3 separate regions of the Homo sapiens genome follow, and regions 1 and 3 are each linked to region 2. The links are contacts of gene promoters, found by promoter capture Hi-C in blood cells and fetal thymus (Javierre and others, 2016). All regions are on one chromosome and are shown on one strand. The core of a region is centred on a gene start or on the middle of the fragment in contact, and the rest is flanking DNA. Distances in the headings are between cores, read along the strand shown.

Evidence for each region. Contacts are between HindIII fragments. The CHiCAGO score rates a contact against its expected background, and 5 or more counts as called.
Region 1: a contact is called between a fragment that was not itself captured here and the fragment with the promoter of GCOM1 in region 2, in 4 of 17 cell types (naive CD4 T cells, naive B cells, total CD4 T cells and 1 more). The highest score is 9.6, in naive CD4 T cells.
Region 3: a contact is called between a fragment that was not itself captured here and the fragment with the promoter of GCOM1 in region 2, in 1 of 17 cell types (fetal thymus). The highest score is 7.0, in fetal thymus.

The regions. Positions count from the first base shown.
Region 1 is chr15:57,864,487-57,867,186 of GRCh38, forward strand. No RefSeq gene overlaps it. Among named protein-coding and RNA genes, the nearest start is that of POLR2M, 160 kb to the left of the region's middle. The HindIII fragment of the contact is 1,245 bases long and covers 716-1,960 here.
Region 2 is chr15:57,590,550-57,593,249 of GRCh38, forward strand. It overlaps GCOM1 (GCOM1, MYZAP-POLR2M combined locus), which reads left to right and starts at 1,355. Exons shown (of 17, transcript NR_104371.3): 1 at 1,355-1,560. It overlaps MYZAP (myocardial zonula adherens protein), which reads left to right and starts at 1,355. Exons shown (of 13, transcript NM_001018100.5): 1 at 1,355-1,560. The coding sequence starts at 1,486. RefSeq lists a silencer at 1,244-1,353. The HindIII fragment of the contact is 3,808 bases long and covers 1-2,148 here.
Region 3 is chr15:58,068,239-58,070,938 of GRCh38, forward strand. It overlaps ALDH1A2-AS1 (ALDH1A2 antisense RNA 1), which reads left to right. Exons shown (of 3, transcript NR_147215.1): 3 at 2,570-2,700. Among named protein-coding and RNA genes, the nearest start is that of ALDH1A2, 3.9 kb to the left of the region's middle. The HindIII fragment of the contact is 1,429 bases long and covers 700-2,128 here.

The sequences.
Region 1 (2,700 bases), core at 88-2,587, 270 kb after region 2:
AAGCCCACACATAGAGTTTTTTTTTTTTTAAGTAAAATTGAGCTTCTAAAATTACCTAAGAGCTGCCAATTCTGAAAATTAACCTCTGTTTAATTAGTTTTGAATGACAACAAACCCAAACTAGTTAAGGTAGAAGCTGAGAGGAAGGAGTACTATGGGAGTTTTCACATTGAATCTCCTGTGTGGCCCTCAAACCAAAGTTTCAGGAGAATGCTGCCAAATAAAAGAGTGGATGATTAAGTGGAAATTAGGAAAACTTTTGTAAAATTGACAAAGGAAAGTCAGAACATTTCAAAGTTTTCTCAGAACTGAATAACAATATAGATCTTCCCTGTCTTTTTCTACCTCTCCCCGCAAGACCTGAGTGCCGGTCATTTTTTAGAAAAGGTGCTCAAATTGACACTTTGGAGATTTCCAGTGCCTTCTATGTGACATGTTTAAGTGCAGGGCTGTGAGGTGAGCACTGATACCATCCCCATTCATTTCAAAGGCTTAGTGCACTATTCAGGCTCGCGGTGAGGGCCCAGTTGATGCTAGCCACTATTACTCTATTAATTTGTGGGAGTAACCAGCCCTTCTGCTTGGGACTGGAACCATTTCTGATTGGTTGGTAATTGCTTTACTATGTTTTGAATGGTGGCACTTAGTGGGCAGAGTTTTCTAGTAAAATCTCAATAGGTATAAAGTGTACAGGTGTCTTCGTAACTTGTTTATAAGCTTACTTGAAGGTAAAGATATTGTTCCATCGATCTTTGTGGCTCACACAGCACGTAGCACAGTAGTTTTCCATAGTAGGTCCTCAAAGAAACTTTTAAATAATAAAATGAAACCTCTGTGTGTAAAGCCATAGACGTGCTTGGTTGGTTTTGTGAAATCTCGTGTCTAAGCAAAAGGCTGATCGACATGGAAGGGTGATGATACCTGAAGAAATGAGCAAAGGTGCCCCCCAACAGAACCTTCCATGATGATGGAAATGTTCTGACCTATGTTGTCCACTAGGGGAGCCACCAGCCACCAGTGAATGCTGAGCACCTGGAATGTGGGTACCATGGCTGAAGTACTAAATGTTCAAGTTTATTCAATTTTAATTAATTTCACTTGGAAGTTACAGAGCCACATGTGGCTAGTGGCCCCTATACTGAACAGCATAGCACAGGCCTAGACCTCCAGTTGAGAATCTGGCAAAAAGGCCCATTTCAGTTGTAGCCATTGAACAAAAGCAGTGATCTCAAAGTGTACCCCTCAGTCAGCAGCATCGGCATTGCCTGAGAACTTTATTAGACTTGCACGCTTTTGGAGCTCATGCTACACCTTCTGAAACAAATTCTGGGGATGAGGCCAAGCAATCTGTATTTTTACAATCCCTTTGTGGTTCTGATGCACCCTCCCATTTGAGAACCTCTGATCTAATTTAAAATTAAAGCAAAATGAGATTCTGATCTACGCTGGTCACCTTTTCTCTGGCAGTGGTTCTCAGACCTCACCAGTGTGGCCTAGCTGCGTGAGAACCCCCAGGCCAATTTGTTACACATACACCCCCCCACACACTACCGAGTTCTACCCTTTAGGGATTCTGATTTTGAATATCTGGACTAGATCAGAAATCTCTACTTTTTTTTTTTAAAGCTCTGAGATACTTTTCATTCACAGCCAAATTGGGGAACCACTCTTAGATCCGGTCAGAGGGTCTCTGGAATTTTATCTCTGATCACGGCAGGACTTGATCCACTCCATTAACCTATGTCCTGTCCCTCCTTTCCTCCTGAGGCCAGTGGAGAAAGGGACCCCAACCTCACTGACTTTCACAGAGCGTTTTTACATCTGCCATTAGATCAAAAAGGTTGCACTAAGGCCCCTGGGCGCCAGGGGGCTCTGTGGAGACTTTGGGCTTCAGGCTTTTCTGTTGGGTTCTAGACTGTTTTGCAAACTATCCGTGTCCAAGAACCAGGTTTTTCCCCTAAGCTTTTACAGACCATTACTTTTTAAAAATGCAATAAAAGTTACTAGAAAGACACAATAAAGACATAGAAAATACAAGGCCTGATTTTCTCCAACAGTGTTACTGTGAACATTGTAAAATATATAAAAAGTCGAAATAATTGCTTTGTACAGTGAACACCAATATACCCACCACCTGGATCCTACCATTAGCATTTTGTTATATTTGCTTTATTATTTATTGATCCGTGTTTCTATCCATTAATCCAAGTTTGGTTTTTTTTTTGTTTTTTGTTTTTTTTTGTTTTTTTATGAACTTAAAGTAAGTTGCTGACATTAGTGCACTTCACCCCTGGACAGTTCAGTATACATATCACGGACGATGTTTCAATTTTTTTTTTTTTTTTTTTTTTTTTACTTTAGTAGAGACATGGTTTCACCATGTTGGCCAGAACGGTCTCGAACTCCCTGGCTTTGAGTGATCCGCCCACCTTGACCTCCCAAAGTGCTGGGATTACATGCGTGAACCACTGTGGCCAGCCAGGTTTCAATATTTTTACGAATTTTTTTTTTTGAGGCATACTTCACATACTGTGAAATGCACAGATCTTAAATGTACTATTCAAAAAAGAATCTTCAGAAATGCATATACTTGTCTAACCTCAAACAGTAACAAGATACAGAGCTTTTCCATCATCCAGAAGGTTCTCTTGTGCACCTTAGCAGCCAATTTGCACAACAGTTTAACCATAAGTCCTAATT
Region 2 (2,700 bases), core at 105-2,604:
TGTGCAACTTTGGGAAAGTCACTTGTATACACCGGCCTCAGTTTCCTCATCTACAAAAGGAGTGAGTTCCACAGGATCATCTGTAATTCTGTTTAGCAACATTTTTTTTTCAGCATCTTCCCTGTTGGTGCCATTGGGCATTCAGAGAGGGTCAAGGCCTGGCCTCTGCCCTCCAGAAGGACAGGGTACAGGCACACACATAGATAACTCTAACAGAAGACAGGGTCCCGCGGAGCTGCTAAGTTCCTGAGCATGCGTGTTTGGGGAAGGGGTTTCTGGAGAGCTCCGTGGGGAGGCAGTGCTTGACCTGGGCTTTGAAGACAGAGATTGTGTCTTTCCCTGCTGAAAAACACTTTGTCCTCAAGATAAAGGCCAAATTTCCAGCTAAGCACACAGGTTCCTCATGATGTCCTCAGCTCCCTTCCGCTGCTTCTCCACTGTTTTCCCACTGCACTGTGATACTTCCAATTCTTGAAACATATTTTATACCTTCCCTTGCTTTCCTTCCATCTTTGTGCATGCTAGTTCTTTTGACCTGGGACTCCCTCCTCCCTCTGTTAGGGGACAGCAGAGGGGACAAGCAAGGCACTAGGGTCGGACTGGGGGATTCATATCCTACCTTTGCCACTGAGAGGCCAGTGGGTCGCCTGCTGTGTTGCTCAATCCCTAGGTGAGTCAGCGTCTTCATCTGCAAAATGGGGATACAAGGTAACAACAGTGACTCCCTCAAAGGGCAATGGTGAGGATTAAATGAGGTAACACACGCAAAGTGCTCGCCAGGCAGGCCCACAGTAATCATTGAATAAATATGGGCAGTGTGGCCCACTCCTACTTGCATTTCAGGTCTTAGCTTAGTCATCACCTCCTCTGAGGTTGGCTGTGTGCTCCCTTAGTACATGGTATCTCCTCTTCTACCACAGCCCGGCACCTGTCATCCCCACCACACTGCAAACTCTCCGAGGCCAACAGCCAGTCGACTGGGTTGGCTGCTGGTGGGGACGCATAATAGGCATTCAGGAAATACTGAATGAATGACATGGGGTGAGGGTCCCAGTGATACGAGGGCGTGCAGAGGCTGTAGGGGGCAGTCCGGGGTGGGGGTAGGTCGTGAGACTGAATGGGCAGGTGGATCTCAACTCTGCGGGGGACAGAGAGAGCATGGGCGTCCAGGCTGTCCAGGGCTCCTTCTTGCCCTGGGACTGACCCTGGGAGGGCGCAGCGCCCTGGGAGAGGATGGTGCTCAACTTTAACCGGGTCGGCGCCCTCGGGAGAAAATGCAGCCTGACGGGTCGGGTGAGCGCGCTCGGCCCCGCCCCGGCCCGGCCCGGCCCCGCCCCCGGCCCCACCCCCGGGCCTTCGCGGTGCAGCTGAGGCTGCAAGTAGCCGGCGCCGTCCCGCGTCGCCCCCGCGCAGGGCGGGCCCCGCACGCTTATTCTGCCCGGGAGGAACGCCGGCGTCCAGCCCGCTACCGACCGCCGCTGCGGGATGCTGCGCTCCACGTCCACGGTCACCCTGCTCTCGGGCGGCGCCGCCAGGACGCCCGGGGCGCCCAGCAGGAGGGTGAGTAGCGGGGGCGGGAGCCGCCGCCGTCCCGTTCCCCCATCCCGGCCGCCCCCTCTAGAGGGGACTAGGGATGGGAAAGCTCGGGAGCCAGCACCTGGCCCCGACGCCCCACCCTGGGCTCAACTCCCCGGTCCTGTGCCGGCTCTGGCAGTGACCCTCCCGCTTGAGGTTTCAGGGGGCCCACCAGCTGGTAGGAGAGGGCTTAGGGGACTTTATGGAATTCCCAGAGATTTCCTCTCCTTCCTGCCTTTCTGTCAAGCCGAGTTTATTGGCGGCACCAGTTTAAAAATGAAGGAAGACATTTGTGCAGTGTCCCTACCTTGAGACTCAAAAGTAATGAATGTATTTAAAACTCAAACTTTCCTTCTTCCATTAATTAAAAGAAAGATGGGGTCACTTGTGTCCACTAGTGATAGGGTATCCACTAGTGATAGGGTAATTCTGGAGTGGGGTTAGCCAAGGTGGGCAAACCAGAACAGCAGCCGGCCGCCCAGGAGCCCGACTGTGTGGGACTCCGGTTTATGTAAACCACTTTCTTCTGTCTGATTTAAATATTAGCACAGTGACAACAATGGCAGCACTGAAAGCTTGGGACAGCATCTCCAGGGAAGGTTTCCCTTTGGAAGTGCTGTTTCTTTTTGATCTTTGTGGCATCTTTTCCCATCTCTCCAGATGCTCTGTAAAAGAAATGCTCCATCTTTCTAACACGGTCAGCACCTTAGAGCCACAGCCAGGGGCTTGGCTTGTGGCTTTTTAGTTCTTCCATTTATCATGATGTTCAATACTTATCATTTGGTACCTCTTTGCTCTGATTGAGACTTCTGTAATCGTGTTTCCTCAAGATTTAAACAGGTGGTTAAGTCCAAAGCAAAACCCCCACTGGTTCTGTCTGCGTGCAGGCTTGGACCTGCTTATTTGCTTTTACATGCCTTAAGCGAGTGATGGTGGTCACCTTATAAGCTGTCTTTCTTAGCTCTAGAAGAAAGGTGTGTTACTCTTGGGCATGGGCCAACTGATGGATTCTGGGGTGTGTGTGTGCGTGCACTCACCAGACACTTAGGTTGTGTACACAGGCGCACACACACACACACACACACACACACCCCAGAATCCATCAGTTGGCTCATGCCCAAGGTT
Region 3 (2,700 bases), core at 164-2,663, 480 kb after region 2:
ATCTTAAACTTCGTTTTGCTTTTCCCCATCGGTGTTTTTTTGTTTTTTTGTGTTTTTTTTTTGAGACAGAGTCTCGCACTGTCATCCAGGCTGGAGTGCAATGGTGTGATCTCGGCTCACTGCAACCTCCGCCTCCCAGGTTCCAGCGATTCTCCTGCCTCAGCCTCCCGAGTAGCTGGGATTACAGGCATCTGCCACCACACCCAGCTAATTTTTTGTGTTTTGGATAGAGACAGGATTTCCCTATGTCAGCCAGGCTGATCTCGAATGCCTGACCTCATGATTCACCCACCTCGGCCTCCCAAAGTGCTGGGATTACAGGTGTCAGCCACTGTATCTGGCCAAAAAAGATATATATTTTGTCTATATTCAGCTCGTGACAGCAGCCACTTTTTGTTCAAGCCCCCTTTTTTGTTTTTTTGAGACTGTCACCAAGGCTGGAGTGCAATGGCATGATCACGGCTCACTGCAACCTCTGCCTCCTGGGTTCAAGCGATTCTCCTGCTTCTGCCTCCTGAATGGCTAGGATTACAGGCACTCACCACCATGCCTAGCTAATTTTTGTATTTTTAGTGGAGATGGAGTTTCACCATGTTGGCCAGACTGGTCTCGAACTCTTGACCTTAACTGATCCACCCTCCTCGGACTCCCAAAGTGCTGGGATTACAGGCATGAGCCACCATGCCCGGCTGTTGTTCAAGCTTTTTAAATCAAGGTAGGGACAAGATGTAGCGGAAAAGAACAGTGAATTATAAATGCTTCTTTGGTGTTCATCTTCTTGGTTTCAGTTTGTAAGATTTACAAGGCTATTACTTCCAAGGCTGCCTTAACACCTCTTCTCACATTCTTATTTCCTCTTCTCTTTCTTTTATCATCTAGTTTTAGTGTTTTCTCATATCCTCTACAGATTTCACAATAGTTAAGAAGACAGTCTTTGGCCAGATGCGGTGGTTTACACCCGTAATTAGGCCAAGGTGGGAGGATTGCTTGAGGCTAGGAGTTCAAGACCAGTCTGGACAACATAGCAAGACCCTGCCTCTACCAAAAAAAAAAAAAAAGTATCCAGGCGTGGTGGTGCATTCCTATAGCCCTAGCTACTCAGGAGGCTGAAAGAGGAGAATCGCTTGAAGCAGGAGTTCAAGGTTATGGTGAGCTATGATCACGCTACTGCACTCCAGCCTGGGTGATGGAGTGAGACCCTGTCTCTAAAAATAAAAAGACAGTCAACTACCTTCAGATTTCTAACAATTTGAATTTCAGCCTTTTCCCCCCAATTTGGCTAAGAAACTGTTTTTTTCCCACCTTTACAGTGTTTCTCCTCCCACCCCCCCCATTCTGTAATTATTTATTGCTTAGGATACATCTTGTTTGAAACCCCTTGCATAAGGGAACCTAAGCTGCAGCATGCTGTATTTATTTCCTTATGAAAACAATTTATTAGGCCTGGTGGAGCCAATATCCTGGAGTTGCAGAGGAGAAAAATAAATTCTTGCCTCATATTTCCTCACCTAAATAATAGAATGCAAAGCTGTAATTTTAAGGCATCAGCTTTATGTGAAGTTTGACTTTAAGTTATGAAACCATAACAGTTTAGGTTTCTTGTTAGCTGCAGTTAAGGGGAGGAAAGTATTTGTTAAGTTGAGAACTAGTCTTTAGAAATCAATGAAGGGAACTAAATGCAGCTCAAAGATCCCTCTCAAAGAAGATGCACTTGATTTTGACAGTAACCGAATGTCCAGCTTGAATGTCAAGTTTCTATGTTTAGGGGCTGTTTCAGCCTCAGGTGGCCCTGCTTAATTGCTTTCCTGTTCCCATTACTAACCATGATGACAGCCTACCTTTCCTAACAGATACACTTGCATTTTAATTTATCTTCAAAAATAAATCACACATTATAGCATTCCCCTCTTCTGGGCTAATTGAATCAGTTCCTTAAATGTCTCTACATCTAATGATTTGAAAGAGGCACATTGTTTGAAATATTTAAAAAATTAGGGCCCTCAGGTTGTATGCAGAATGATCTCAGTGCTTATTTCAGATATAAGTGTTTCCTAATGATCTCATTCATCTCAAATGGGATATGCCTGGCCACTTTATTTGAAATGTTTCCTGAAAACTCTAACAGGAAAGCTTAATGCAAAATATATTTATAGAGAAATGGTATTTAATTTATTAACAAAAGCTTATAAAGAGCTTTACATATTTTTATCCAGAAATGCTTAATGAAGTATTTGGGACCCATTATGAAAACTTCTATAAAATAAATCCACTTATATTTTTATTTAACCTGTATATTAACTTTTTATGTGAGATCTAAACTCTCATTTAATTATCCTTTTCCTTCTAACATCCAGAAGAAAAGAGGCTGAGACTGTGGTATTTATTAACCATAAAAATTCTCTAGATATTAAGTTCCTCATTTCTTGATATGGCCTCTGGTCACTATATTCTATGAGAAGAGGTATTTGGAGTTGCAGGGAGTAGAGTCCTAATTGGTTATGACTCAAAAAACTATGTTTTGATACAAAACACAGTTCTTTTCTTTTAAAATATACCCTCTACTTTTCAGGGACCCCGGAGACTATTTTAAACATGGGAACTAGATTTGCCTTTGTTGTAAGGCCCAGTTCCATTTCGTATATGTTCGAGAAGCTTCAATTTGGGTACTGGGATGAGCGCAGTACTTCATCAATAATCACA